3 separate regions of the Homo sapiens genome follow, and regions 2 and 3 are each linked to region 1. The links are contacts of gene promoters, found by promoter capture Hi-C in human tissues and cell types (Jung and others, 2019). All regions are on one chromosome and are shown on one strand. The core of a region is centred on a gene start or on the middle of the fragment in contact, and the rest is flanking DNA. Distances in the headings are between cores, read along the strand shown.

Evidence for each region. Contacts are between HindIII fragments. The study calls those that stand out against the background at their distance.
Region 2: a contact is called between the fragment with the promoter of IFI35 here and a fragment that was not itself captured in region 1, in 1 of the 25 tissues and cell types used here (spleen).
Region 3: a contact is called between the fragment with the promoter of STAT5A here and a fragment that was not itself captured in region 1, in 2 of the 25 tissues and cell types used here (dorsolateral prefrontal cortex and lymphoblastoid cells).

The regions. Positions count from the first base shown.
Region 1 is chr17:42,600,599-42,604,654 of GRCh38, forward strand. All of the region lies in intron 1 of RETREG3 (reticulophagy regulator family member 3), which reads right to left. Among named protein-coding and RNA genes, the nearest start is that of RETREG3, 6.7 kb to the right of the region's middle. The HindIII fragment of the contact is 8,726 bases long and covers 1-4,056 here.
Region 2 is chr17:43,004,429-43,008,484 of GRCh38, forward strand. IFI35 (interferon induced protein 35) reads left to right here and starts at 2,356. Exons shown (of 7, transcript NM_001330230.2): 1 at 2,356-2,540. The coding sequence starts at 2,520. RefSeq lists an enhancer at 2,216-2,525. The HindIII fragment of the contact is 8,301 bases long and covers 1-4,056 here.
Region 3 is chr17:42,286,616-42,290,671 of GRCh38, forward strand. It overlaps STAT5A (signal transducer and activator of transcription 5A), which reads left to right and starts at 1,883. Exons shown (of 19, transcript NM_001288718.2): 1 at 1,883-1,983; 2 at 2,787-2,924; 3 at 3,251-3,407. The coding sequence starts at 2,797. It also overlaps a transcript of STAT5B not described here. RefSeq lists enhancers at 597-656, 940-1,440, 2,887-2,946 and silencers at 1,457-1,536, 1,557-2,236. The HindIII fragment of the contact is 10,924 bases long and covers 1-4,056 here.

The DNA of each region.
Region 1 (4,056 bases), core at 1,158-3,657:
GGAAGACACAAAATTGGCCAGGAATTGAAAAAAATAATATTATGTACATGGTGGCACACAATATTATTCTGCCTACTTACACATGTTTTAAGCTTTCCATAATAAAATATTTTTAAAATGATCCATTATCCACATATGTACTCTAAAAAGTGTGAAGACAGGCTATTCTCTTCATTAAAAAATTCACATATAAAAACACTATGGTTTTAAAACTTTTTCACATAATACATAGACAATTAGCCTGATGTGGTGATGAACTCCTGTGGTCTCATCAGCCATGAGGTGGAATGATCACTTGAGCTCAGGAGTTCCAGGGTACAGTGAGCCATGATCACACCACTGCAATCTAGCCTGGGTGACAGAGTGAAACCTTCTCTCAAAAAAAACAATGAATGGGCCAGGCGCAGTGGCTCAAACCTGTAATTCCAGCACTTTGGGAGGCTGAAGCAGGTAGATCACTTGACATCAGGAGTTCAAGACCAGCCTGGCCAACATGGTGAAACCCCATCTCTACCTAAAAATACAAAAATTAGCTAGGCATGGTGGCGGGTGCCCGTAATCCCAGCTACTCAGGAGGCTGAGGCAGGAGAACTGCTTGAATCCGGGAGGCGGAGGTTGCAGTGAGCTGAGATTGTGCCACTGCACTCCAGCCTGGGCAACACAGGAAGACTCCATCTCAAATAAAATAAAATAAACTAAGACGGTGGCTCAAGCCTGTAATCCCAACACTTTGGGAGGCTGAGGCAGGCAGATCACGAGATCAGGAGATCGAGACCATCCTGGCTAACACGGTGAAACCCTGGCTCTACTAAAAAATACAAAAAATTAGCCGGGAGTGGTGGTGGGCGCCTGGAGTCCCAGCTACTCGGGAGGCTGAGGCAGGAGAATGGCGTGAACCTGAGAGGCGGAGCTTGCAGTGAGCCGAGATCGCGCCACTGCACTCCAGCCTGGGCAACAGACAGAGCGAGACTCTCTCAAAAAAAAAAAAGAAAAGAAAAATAAACGAAAAATAAACTAAGAAGGTTCCAACTTTTTTTTTTTTTTTTTTTTTGAGACGGAGTCTTGCTCTTGTTGCCCAGGCTGGAGTGCAGTGGCGCGATCTCGGGTCACCACAACCTCTGCCTCCCAGGTTCAACGGATTCTCCTGCCTCAGCCTCCCAAGGTAGCTGGGATTACAGGCATGCGCCACCATGCCCGGCTGATTTGGCATTTTTAGTAGAGATGGGGTTTCTCCATTGTTGGTCAGGCTGGTCTTGAATTCCCGACCTTAGGTGACCTGCCTGCCTCGGCCTCCCAAAGTGCTGAGAATTATAGGCATGAGCCACTGCGCCCAGCCAAAAGTTTCCAATTTTTTGATGTAATAAAAGCTGAACTATACATCACTGAGCATGTTACTGGGTCAAAGGCATTAACTATTTTAAACAAATAGCTTTATTGGTCGGGCACCGTAGCTCACACCTGTAATCCCAGCCTTTGGGAGGCCGAGGCAGGTGGGTCACTTGAGGTCAAGAGTTCAAGACCACTTTGGCCAACATGGTGAAACTCCATCTCTACTAAAAATACAAAAATCAGCCAAGACATGGTGGTGCACGCCGGTAGTCCCAGCTACTTGGGAGGCTGAGGCAGGAGAACTGCTTGAATCTGGGAGGCAGAGGTTGCAGTGAGCTGAGATCATGCCACTGCACTCCAGTCTGGGCCACAGAGTAAGACTCCGTTTCAAAAAAAAAAAAGTAAGAAAATAGCTTTATTGAGATAATGGTTTGTATACGATAAAATTCTCTTTCAATTCATCTGCCAGCAGCAGAGATGAAAAAAAAATCACAATGCTGTACGACTAATAGCCTTATGTAATTTCAGAACATTTTCATCACTCCAAAAGAAACCCATACCCATTAGTATTCTTTCTCCATTTCCCCCAGCCCTGGAAAAGCTTCTTAAGTGGCTTAAAATATGTTACCAAACTACTTGCTAGAAAGGCTGTCCAATTTATGTTCCTATCAGCCATATGCCCATTTTTCCATATTTTCCCCAGAATTAATTATGATCATTAAAAATACTTAAGGCCAGGTGTGGAGGCTCACACCTGTAATCCCAGCACTTTGGGAGGCCAAGGTGGGTGGACTGCTGGAGCCCAGGAGTTCAAGACCAGCCTGGGCAACATGGTGAAACCTTGTTTCTACGAAAAATACAAAACAATTAACCAGGTGTGGTGACACACACCTGTAGTCCCCACTACCTGAGAGGCTGAGGTGGGAGGATGGCTTGAGCCCAGAGGTTGAGGTTGCAATAAGCCATGATCACACCACTGCTCTCGAGCCTGGGCGACAGTGAGATCCTGTCCCCCGCCAAAAAAAAAACTTAAGATAGAAATTAGTAAATAATTTCCATTTACATATATTTGAATTCTTTTCTTATTTGTGAGAGTGAAATTTTATATATCCATTGATTTTTTTTTCCCCTTTTGTGAACTGTCCCTCCACTCTGTCAGGGACTAAAATCCAATTAAATGATCAGTCTAAATAAAATATCCCTGGAATAGCAATTGGTGTCCAGAAACATCGTGAGAAATTCCAGAACCAAACATAAACTTTTGTGATTAACTATACCATGGAGCCTCACTATTAGTACCAGTAAATTAAAGTTTGCTATAATCATAAATAATGACCACATGTCTATTTTCAAAGACATGATTTCTAGGTTCCTTTGTTATTACAGATTAAGATTGTCTCAAGGGCACTTCAAAACAAAGCATCCCATTCTACAGGGACAGAAAGCCTGTTACTGTACAGCACTTGTGACCGCCTGGTTAATGAGCCCAAGTCACCGGTAAATTCAAAGGAAAAATTAACCCAACCTATATCATGCAGTGACAGTTGTTGCTTGCAAAAAAACCAGAAATGAAATCAGCTAGCTGCTAACAGTGGAGAGAAAGCACTCAACCATACAATTAGGGCAGATAAAAACTAAAGGTAAAGAGAGGGGAAGTAAATAAACCAAGGCATCCTTGGGAGTCTTCTCGGCTCACAAAGACAAGAACCCTGCAAAGACTATCATCAGGAACATTCACTCAACAGATTTCATTAGAAATCTGATGTGTAGCCGGGCGCGGTGGCTCACGCCTGTAATCCCAGCACTTTGGGAGACCGAGGCGGGCGGATCACGAGGTCAGGAGATTGAGACCATCCTGGCTAAAACGGTGAAACCCGGTCTCTACTAAAAATACAAAAAATTAGGTGGGCATGGTGGCGGGCGCCTGTAGTCCCAGCTACTCGGGAGGCTGAGGCAGGAGACTGGCGTGAACCCGGGAGGTGGAGCTTGCAGTGAGCCGAGATCGCGCCACTGTACTCCAGCCTGGGCGACAGAGCGAGACTCCGTCTCAAAAAAAAAAAAAAGAAAAGAAATCAGATGTGTAGATTTTTTTTAACAGAACAAATATCTCTACTTAAATGGGCTCCCCATCTTCCATTTCTTGTTTCTATTATTTTTTACTCAAATCCTAACCTTCTAACTCAGAATTGCTGTATATCCTTAATCACTTTTTTGGGTCATTTTTATTTATTTATTTTTTTGGGGGGGCGGACAAAAATAAAATTTTTACATTTCATTTGTGAAATAACAAATTCTATAATAACCTCCTAGAAATACAGTATGGTTCACTGAGACTAGTGACTGCAAAAAGCAGATCCCAACAGAGATCTCTACTTGGGACTCAGCTTGTGGACTGCTCCAAAACAATATTCCTAATTCATAGACTATGTAGATTCACAGATTGTTAAAAACCACAAAGCAGTCAAGGTGCAGTGGGTCATGCCTGTAATCCTAGCACTTTAGGAGACCAAGCCGGGAGGGCTGTTAGAGATGAGGAGTTTGAGACCAGCCTGGGCAACATATTGAGATTCTGTCTCTACAAAAGTTTTGCAAATAGGCTGGGCCCAGTGGCATGTGCCTCTAGTCCCAGCTACTTGGAAGACTGAGGCAAGAGGACTGCTGGAGCCCAGGAGGTAGAGGCTGCAGTGAGCTATGATTGTGCCACTGCACTCCAGCCTGGGCAACAGA
Region 2 (4,056 bases), core at 1,106-3,605, 400 kb after region 1:
GCCCAGCCACTTTTTTTTAAGATGGAGTTTTGCTCTTTCACCCACCCAGTCCGGAGCGAGGTGGCACTATCGGCTCACTGCAACTTCTGCCCCGCCCCGGGGTTCAAGCGATTCTCCTGCCTCAGCCTCCCAAGTAGCTAGGACTACAGGAGTGTGCTACCACACCCAGCTAATTTTTGTATTTTTAGAAGAGATGGGGTTTCACTATGTTGGCCAGGATGGTCTTGAACTTCTGATCTCATGATCCACCCACCTTGGCGTCCCAAAGTGCTGGGATTACAGGTGTGAGCCACTGCACCCAGCCAGGAAACTTTTTAATTGAATCTTCACACACTTAAGTATTAAGGCATCTCTATTGAGACAGACTTCTATTAAGTAGCTTGCCTACTCAGGGTCACAGAAATGGGGCTGAATTTAAAACTTTTGAGGAAAAATACAGCAAATTTTTTTCCACTCTACCTCAAGGCCCAAGTGTAAATACTGTTCCTACCAGGTTTGGATCCATGCTTTGATTCCTAGCCCTGTGACCTTGGGCAAGTTTCTAATGCTCTGTGCCTCAATTTTCTCATCTGTAAAGTGAAGAAAATAGAACCAACTTCATGGCATTGTTTTGAAGAGTTAATTCATGTAAGGCACAAGCGTGTTGGGCAGACGATAGCTCTCCTTGCTGGCCACTGTTAACAGTTTTGTGAACTTTTTTCTTTTTTTTTTTTTTGAGCCAGAGTCTCGCTCTGTCACCCAGCTGGAGTGCAGTGGCACGATCTCGGCTCACTGCAAGCTCCGCCTCCCGGGTTCAAGCGATTCCCCCGTCTCAGCCTCCCGAGTAGCTGGGACTACAGGCGCATGCCACCACGCCCGGCTAATTTTTGTATTTTTAGTAGAGACAGGGTTTCCCCATGTTGGTCAGGCTGGTCTCAAACTCCTGACCTCAAGTGATTCACCGCCTCAGCCTCCCAAAGTGCTGGGATTACAGGCGTGAGCCACTGCACCCAGCCTTTTTTTTTTTTTTTTTTTTTTTTTTAAGAGACAAGATTCACTGTGTTGCCCAGGCTGGCCTCGAACTCCTGGGCTCAAGCAGTCCTCCTGCCTCAACCTGCTGGAACTATAGGCACATGTTACCAGTGGGCCCAGCTGCTGGGATTGGCACTTTTTTTTTTTTTTTAGTCAGAATCTCACTCTGTTGCCCAGGCTGGAGTGCAGTGGTGTGATCCGGCCCGGCTAATTTTTTGTATTTTAGTAGGGACAGGGTTTCACCATGGTGGCCAGGATGGTCTCGTGATCCACCCGCCTGGACCTCCCAAAGTGCTGGGATTACAAGGCATGAGCCACTGCGCCTGGCAGTTTTGTGAACTTGAACTGTGGACTTTATCTGTCCTGATTGTGTTTCTCATTCATTCAGCAATTATTATTTTTTGAGATGGAGTTTCGCTCTTGTCACTCAGGCTGGAGTGCAACAGCGCGATCTTGGCTCAATGCAACCTCTGCCTCCCAGGTTCCAGCTATTCTCCTGCCTCGGCCTCCCAAGTAGCTGGGATTACAGGAATACACCACCACACCCGGATAATTTTTGTATTTTTTTAGTAAAGACGGGGTTTCACCACGTTGGCCAGGCTGGTGTCTAACTTGGGATCTCAGGTGATCTGCCCACCTGGGCCTCCCAAAGTGCTGGGATTACAGGTGTGAGCCACCGCACCCGGCAGTTTTGTGAACTTGAACTATGGGCGTTATCTGTCCTGACTGTGTTTCTCATTCATTCAGCAATTATTGTTTTATTTATTTTTTGAGATGGAGTTTCACTCTTGTCACCCAGGCTGGAGTGCAATGGCACCATCTCAGCTCAATGCAACCTCTGCCTCCGGGTTCCAGCTATTCTCCTGCCTCGGCCTCCCAAGTAGCTGGGATTACAGGAATGCACCTCCACGCCCGGCTAATTTTTGTATTTTTTTAGTAAAGGTGGGGTTTCACCATGTTGGCCAGGCTGGTCTCTAACTCCTGACCTCAGGTGATCTGCCCGCCTGGGCCTCCCAGAATGCTGGGATTACAGGTGTGAGCCGCCGCACCCAGCTCATTCAGCAATTATTTTATCAATGTTCAATGTGCCCAGCATTATTCTAGGCTCTAGGGAAATAATCCATTGACAAAGCAGGGTCTACCAATGGGCTTGTCGGAGATTGCTGGGAATGGTTGATGGGGGCCAGTTTGCAGTTGGGGTGAGGTGGCTTTCCTTGAGGCAGCCTGGCTGAGTGAAGTCGACTTTGCTGACCAAGAAGGCTCCTCCCAGGGGTGGGGAAGCCTCGGCAGGGGGCGGCATGTGAGCGCCAGAAGGCAGGGATTTCACGGAAATGAAAGTGGAAGCAAACAGCCTGCGAGCAGAGCCTCCTGAGGTGTATTTCGGGTCTTGCTGGGGCTGAGAGAGACCACAGCCCTTTGGGGGGTACAAACAAGAGTTCAGTTGCTGTGAATTCTGCCACTGTGCCCAGCTCTGAAGCCTCAGCTCTTGCCAAACAGACCCGAGACCCATGTCAGCCCCACTGGATGCCGTAAGTGAGGAGGAGGGAGTTGGGAAGTGGGGAAACAGGAGTAATCCTCTTGGCTAGGAACCTGCAGATATCTCAGGGCCTGGCAGCCAAGCCTCACCCTGCCCATCTCAGACCTGCTGAAGGGCTGGGGAGAAACACAGGGCTGGGGTTGCCTCTGCAAGAGTTGGTTCCCTAACCTATTGCCTCAGACAGGAGGAGCTCATTAAATCCTGTGTGTGTACACTTCTCTGGAGAGAGAATCTGTAGTTTCCATCAGATACTCAGCGGGTTCTGTGACCCAAATAACAATTGTTCTAGGCCGGGCGTGGTGTCTCACGCCTGTCATCCTAGCACTTTGGGAGGCCTTGGCAATACAGTGAAAATCCGTCTCTACTAAAATACAAAAAATTAGCTGTGTGTGGTGGTGTGCGCCTGTAATCCCAGCTACTTGGGAGGCTGAGACAGGAGAATCACTTGAACCTGGGAGGCGGAGGTTGCAGTGAGCCGAGATTGCATCACTGCACTCCAGCCTGGGTGACACAGCGAGACTCTGTCTAAAAAAAAAAAAAAAAAAATTAAACTAAAGGAATTAGGCTGGGTGTGTTGGCTCACACCTGTAATCCCAGCCAGCACTTTGGGAGGCTGAGGCGTGTGGATCACTTGAGGTTAGGAGTTCGAGACCAGCCTGGCCAACATAGCAAAACCCCATCTCTACTAAAAACACAAAAATTAGCCAGGCATGGTGGCACACACCTGTAATCCCAGCTACTAGGGAGACTGAGGCGGGAGAATTGCTTGAACCTGGGAGGCAGAGGTTGCAGTGAGCCGAGATTGTACCACTATGCTCCACTCTGGGCAACAGAGGGAGACTGTCTCTCACACACACACACACACAAAATTTATATATATATATATATATATATATACTATAAGAATTATACTTTAAGAATCACACTAGGTAATCCATAGATTAACACGGTAAAAACTTATCCCACTGCTTAGCACCTACAGAGCATTCAATATGTGTTTCTTCTTAATATTATTATTGCCAACCTTTTCAGAACCCCAGTTCCCCAAGGACAATCCCTTTTTTTTTTTTTTTTTTGAGACGGAGTCTCACTCTGTCTCCTAGGCTGGAGTACAGTGGCATGATCTCGGCTCACTGCAACCTCTGCCTCCCGGGTTCAAGCGATTCTCCTGCCTCAGCCTCCCAAGTAACTGGGAGTACAGGCACGTTCCACCATGCCTGGCTAATTTTTTGTATTTTTAGTAGAAATGGAGTTTCACCGTGTTAGCCGGGATGGTCTTGATCTTCTGACCTCGTGATCTGCCCCCCTCAAGCTCCCAAAGTGCTGGGATTACAGGTGTAAGCCACCATGCCCGGACTTTTCTTTCCTTTTTTTTTTTTTTTTTTTTTTGAGATGGAGTTTCACTCTTGTTGCCCAGGCTGAAGTGCAATAGCATGATCTTGGCTCACTGCAACCTCTGCCTTCCAGATTCAAGTGATTCTCTTGCCTCAGCATCCCAAGTAGCTGGG
Region 3 (4,056 bases), core at 633-3,132, 310 kb before region 1:
CTTAAGCAGGCACCCCCACCCCATCAGGTGCCCAGATGTCAGTGCATGGCAAGGGTGGCCCTCTGCCCTCCAGACCTGGGTGAGAGGACTTGAAAACCTGAGGAATCTGCTCCCATCAACTGACTTCCACACCTGCCTGAAGGGAACTGCTGGAGGGCACAGGTGCCAAGTGGGACCCACCCAAATGTGGCAATGGGTTTGTATCCAGCCACCGACAGGCTGCATGACGGTGGCAAAGTCACTTCCCCTCTCTGGCCTTTGTTTTTCCACTTGTAAAATCATCTTTATGGTCACTTCCAGCTGTGGCACTTGGCTTTCATTCCAGTTGACCCCCTAGCTCTGTGTCTGACCCTCCCCTGCCAAATCCATTGCTCAGAGTGGGAAAGGAGAGGAGAGGGACTATACTTCCTCCTCCCTGGGGCCCCCTGCAGAGCATCTGGGAAGCAAGGCTTCCCTACATCCTCCATGCACCCCCTTAGAGTTTTCAATTCCTTTCCTCGTGATCCTGCCAACTAAGACACTGTGACCACACAGAGAAGGTGGGGAGAACGCAGACATTTTGGCTTCTGCAGCTTTGAAGTTCTTTTTTTTTTTTTCCTCTGAAGTTAAAAGAATGAAACTGGGAGAGGTAGTAAGGGGCAAGAAAGGAGAGTGGAAATGGAGAGAAAAGGGCAGCTCTGAGAAGCAGCTGGGGAGGGAGGCAGATGAGAATGCACCCCCCCCAACAGAACATGCAGTCTTGGCCCAGCTGTGCTGTGAGTGGGCAGCTGGGCTGGCCCCTCCTCTGGTGCTGCCAACCCGCTGCCAGGCAGAGGGGAGGCCCAGAGGAGAGGGAAGCTGGGCAAAGGGGATGGAAGGCGTCCAGCCCGACCTTACCAAACCCCTTGGGCCTCGTGGGAAGGGGCCTCTTGGAGAGGGGGACTGAGGCTCTAGACAGGATATTCACTGCTGTGGCAAGGCCTGTAGAGAGTTTCGAAGTTAGGAGGACTCAAGACGGTCCCTCCCTGGACTTTTCTGAAGGTAGAACCAGCCTCATAAGTAACTAGGCTGGGTGAACGGGGGCGCTGGCTAGTTTATGGATCACAGTCGGCTGGTGAGGCCACGTGCCTACTGTGTGGCCCTGGGTGGCCCCGGGCAAGCCCCTTTCCCTCTCAGGACTTCCATTTCTTACCTGCAAAATTGTGGAGAGGGGGAGGGCTGAAACACATGACTGCCAAGATTCTTTCCAGTTCCTCCGTCAGGGTTGAGTTTAGATGGCCGGAGTAAAAGAAGGAGGGAGGTGCTGCGGTGGTGGGGGTGATCTTGGCTTCACTAGAATCCCCAGTTCTTCCCCTCTCTACAGTTTTGTCTCTGAGGTCACAAAACCTGTGGCCCCCAAGACACACATGCGCACACACGCGCGTGCACACACACACCCCACACATTTATTTTTTAATCTAGGGGCTCAAAAGATGACACGCGCCAGAGCTGGAAGGCGTCGCCAATTGGTCCACTTTTCCCTCCTCCCTTTTTGCGGATGAGAAAACTGAGGCCCAGGTTTGGGATTTCCAGAGCCCGGGATTTCCCGGCAACGCCCGACAACCACATTCCCCCGGCTATTCTGACCCGCCCCGGTTCCGGGACGCTCCCTGGGAGCCGCCGCCGAGGGCCTGCTGGGACTCCCGGGGGACCCCGCCGTCGGGGCAGCCCCCACGCCCGGCGCCGCCCGCCGGGAACGGCCGCCGCTGTTGCGCACTTGCAGGGGAGCCGGCGACTGAGGGCGAGGCAGGGAGGGAGCAAGCGGGGCTGGGAGGGCTGCTGGCGCGGGCTCGCGCGCTGTGTATGGTCTATCGCAGGCAGCTGACCTTTGAGGAGGAAATCGCTGCTCTCCGCTCCTTCCTGTAGTAACAGCCGCCGCTGCCGCCGCCGCCAGGAACCCCGGCCGGGAGCGAGAGCCGCGGGGCGCAGAGCCGGCCCGGCTGCCGGACGGTGCGGCCCCACCAGGTGGGTGACCCGGTGGCGCGTCCTCGGCGGCGCGCCGAGAGGGGACACTCTACTGCCGCCCCGGCACCTCCGGCACCCGGAGCTCGACGGCCGGGCGCAGCGCGGGGATCAGTCCCCGGCACTGCGAGGGAGTTGGCCCAGCGCAGACGAGGGACGGGGGGACGTGGGGACAGGGGTCGGGGATGAAAGGCAGAGGCCAGGGAGGGCGCCGTCCTGGCACGCCTCGGAGAGGGAGCACCTGTCGGGCTGGACCCGGGGAGGCACTAGTGCACAGATGGGGGAGCAGCCGAAGAGGGGAGCGCCCAAGTCCTCAGCCCTGTCTCCTGAACAGCCCCAGCCACGTGCCCGAAAAGCCCTAGCCGTCGAGTGGGAGCCGTCGTGGCGCTGGCCTAACTTCGGGTTGGAATATCTCCCCTTCCCAGAAACCGGGCCCGAGGTGGGCTGGGGGATCCTTGCAGCCCTCTCCAGGGGGCCTGTGGGCCTCCCGCCGTCAAGTTTCTCTTTCAGTTTCTGGCCGTCCCCCTCACTAGGGAAGCTCCGGTGGGGCGAGGGGAGAGGAAGACGGGGAGGGCACCTGCCTCTGCAGAGCACCTTCCCCTCCCCTTCAGCGGGTTCCTTGTTGGAGGGGATGGGCGGCCCTCCACTCCTCACCATCTCTGTTCCCGCACAGGAAAGCTATCTGTGGGAGGGGAGGGGCCTGGCCTGGCCGCGGTCCAGGGATAGGTAGGCATGGCAAGGCCAGGGGCAGGCCCGGTTCCTTGGCCTCTGCAGAGGAGAGCGCTTCAGCGCTCGGCTCGCCCTAGGTGAACGGCCATGGCGGGCTGGATCCAGGCCCAGCAGCTGCAGGGAGACGCGCTGCGCCAGATGCAGGTGCTGTACGGCCAGCACTTCCCCATCGAGGTCCGGCACTACTTGGCCCAGTGGATTGAGAGCCAGCCATGGTAGGCACGTCCCGCCCTGCCCCTCCTCAGAGGGTCCCTACCATCCAGGCCCTTTGGCCTCTAGTTTTACTCATGGTGGTTTGGTGTGACTCTGGTCCTGCCTGTCCTTCTTTGTGCGGAAGGGGTGGTGCCCCTGGGAAAGGGGAAGCCTGGGAGGACAGAGAATGTTTTTAGACTCGGATGTCTGTGGAGCTGCTGGGAACAAGTCTTGTGGGCCCTGGAGTGCCCTCGGTCATGAGCCTGGGGTTTCCACTTTATTCCAGCTCCCTGACCTCCTTGCCCAAGGAGGTGCCACAGTAGGTTTTTCTCTTCTGCCCTGCCCCAAGGGATGCCATTGACTTGGACAATCCCCAGGACAGAGCCCAAGCCACCCAGCTCCTGGAGGGCCTGGTGCAGGAGCTGCAGAAGAAGGCGGAGCACCAGGTGGGGGAAGATGGGTTTTTACTGAAGATCAAGCTGGGGCACTACGCCACGCAGCTCCAGGTGGGTGTAGGCTCTGGGCCACCTACGGGGAGGAAGCATCATCTTGTTCCAGCATCAGAACCCCTGGGTTTTTTCCTGGCCTGGCCACTGACTCACCATGTGACCACGAACTTATTGGGAACTTTTCTTCGATTTCCCCCACCCCCTCTTTCTAAATTCGACCTGTCGGATTTCTTTAGCATATTGCAAAGCAAGGGTGGGAGGTGTTTGTTGCCAACAGAGAGAGATGGGTGAACTGGCCTTATGGAAGCAGCAGAAGGGATGGAGGGAGACTGAGTCAGGATTCCTATGTTGGAGAAGGGAAGACCAGCAGACTCTAGAAATGAGGCCACCAGACCTCCCTCTTGGGGTCTTTTAAAGGTGAGAGAGGAGCCATCCCAGAGACAAGAGCTGGACACAAGGGCTTTGAATTGAGGGTTTAGAAATAAGATGTAGCTTCTTTACTTGAGGGGAGTGGGTATGGAGGAAGAGAGGGAGTTTTTGTGGAAGCAGGAAAGGGGTGTGGGTAGTGATGACAGTCAAGCACTTATTGGAACTCACGTATGTTTCCTAGAGAGCCCTTCAATACAGACAGCAGGGTGCCAGGGAAATACAAGTCCATCCCAGAAGAGGGGGAAAACAGGAGAAGCCTGAGGGGAAGCAATATAGG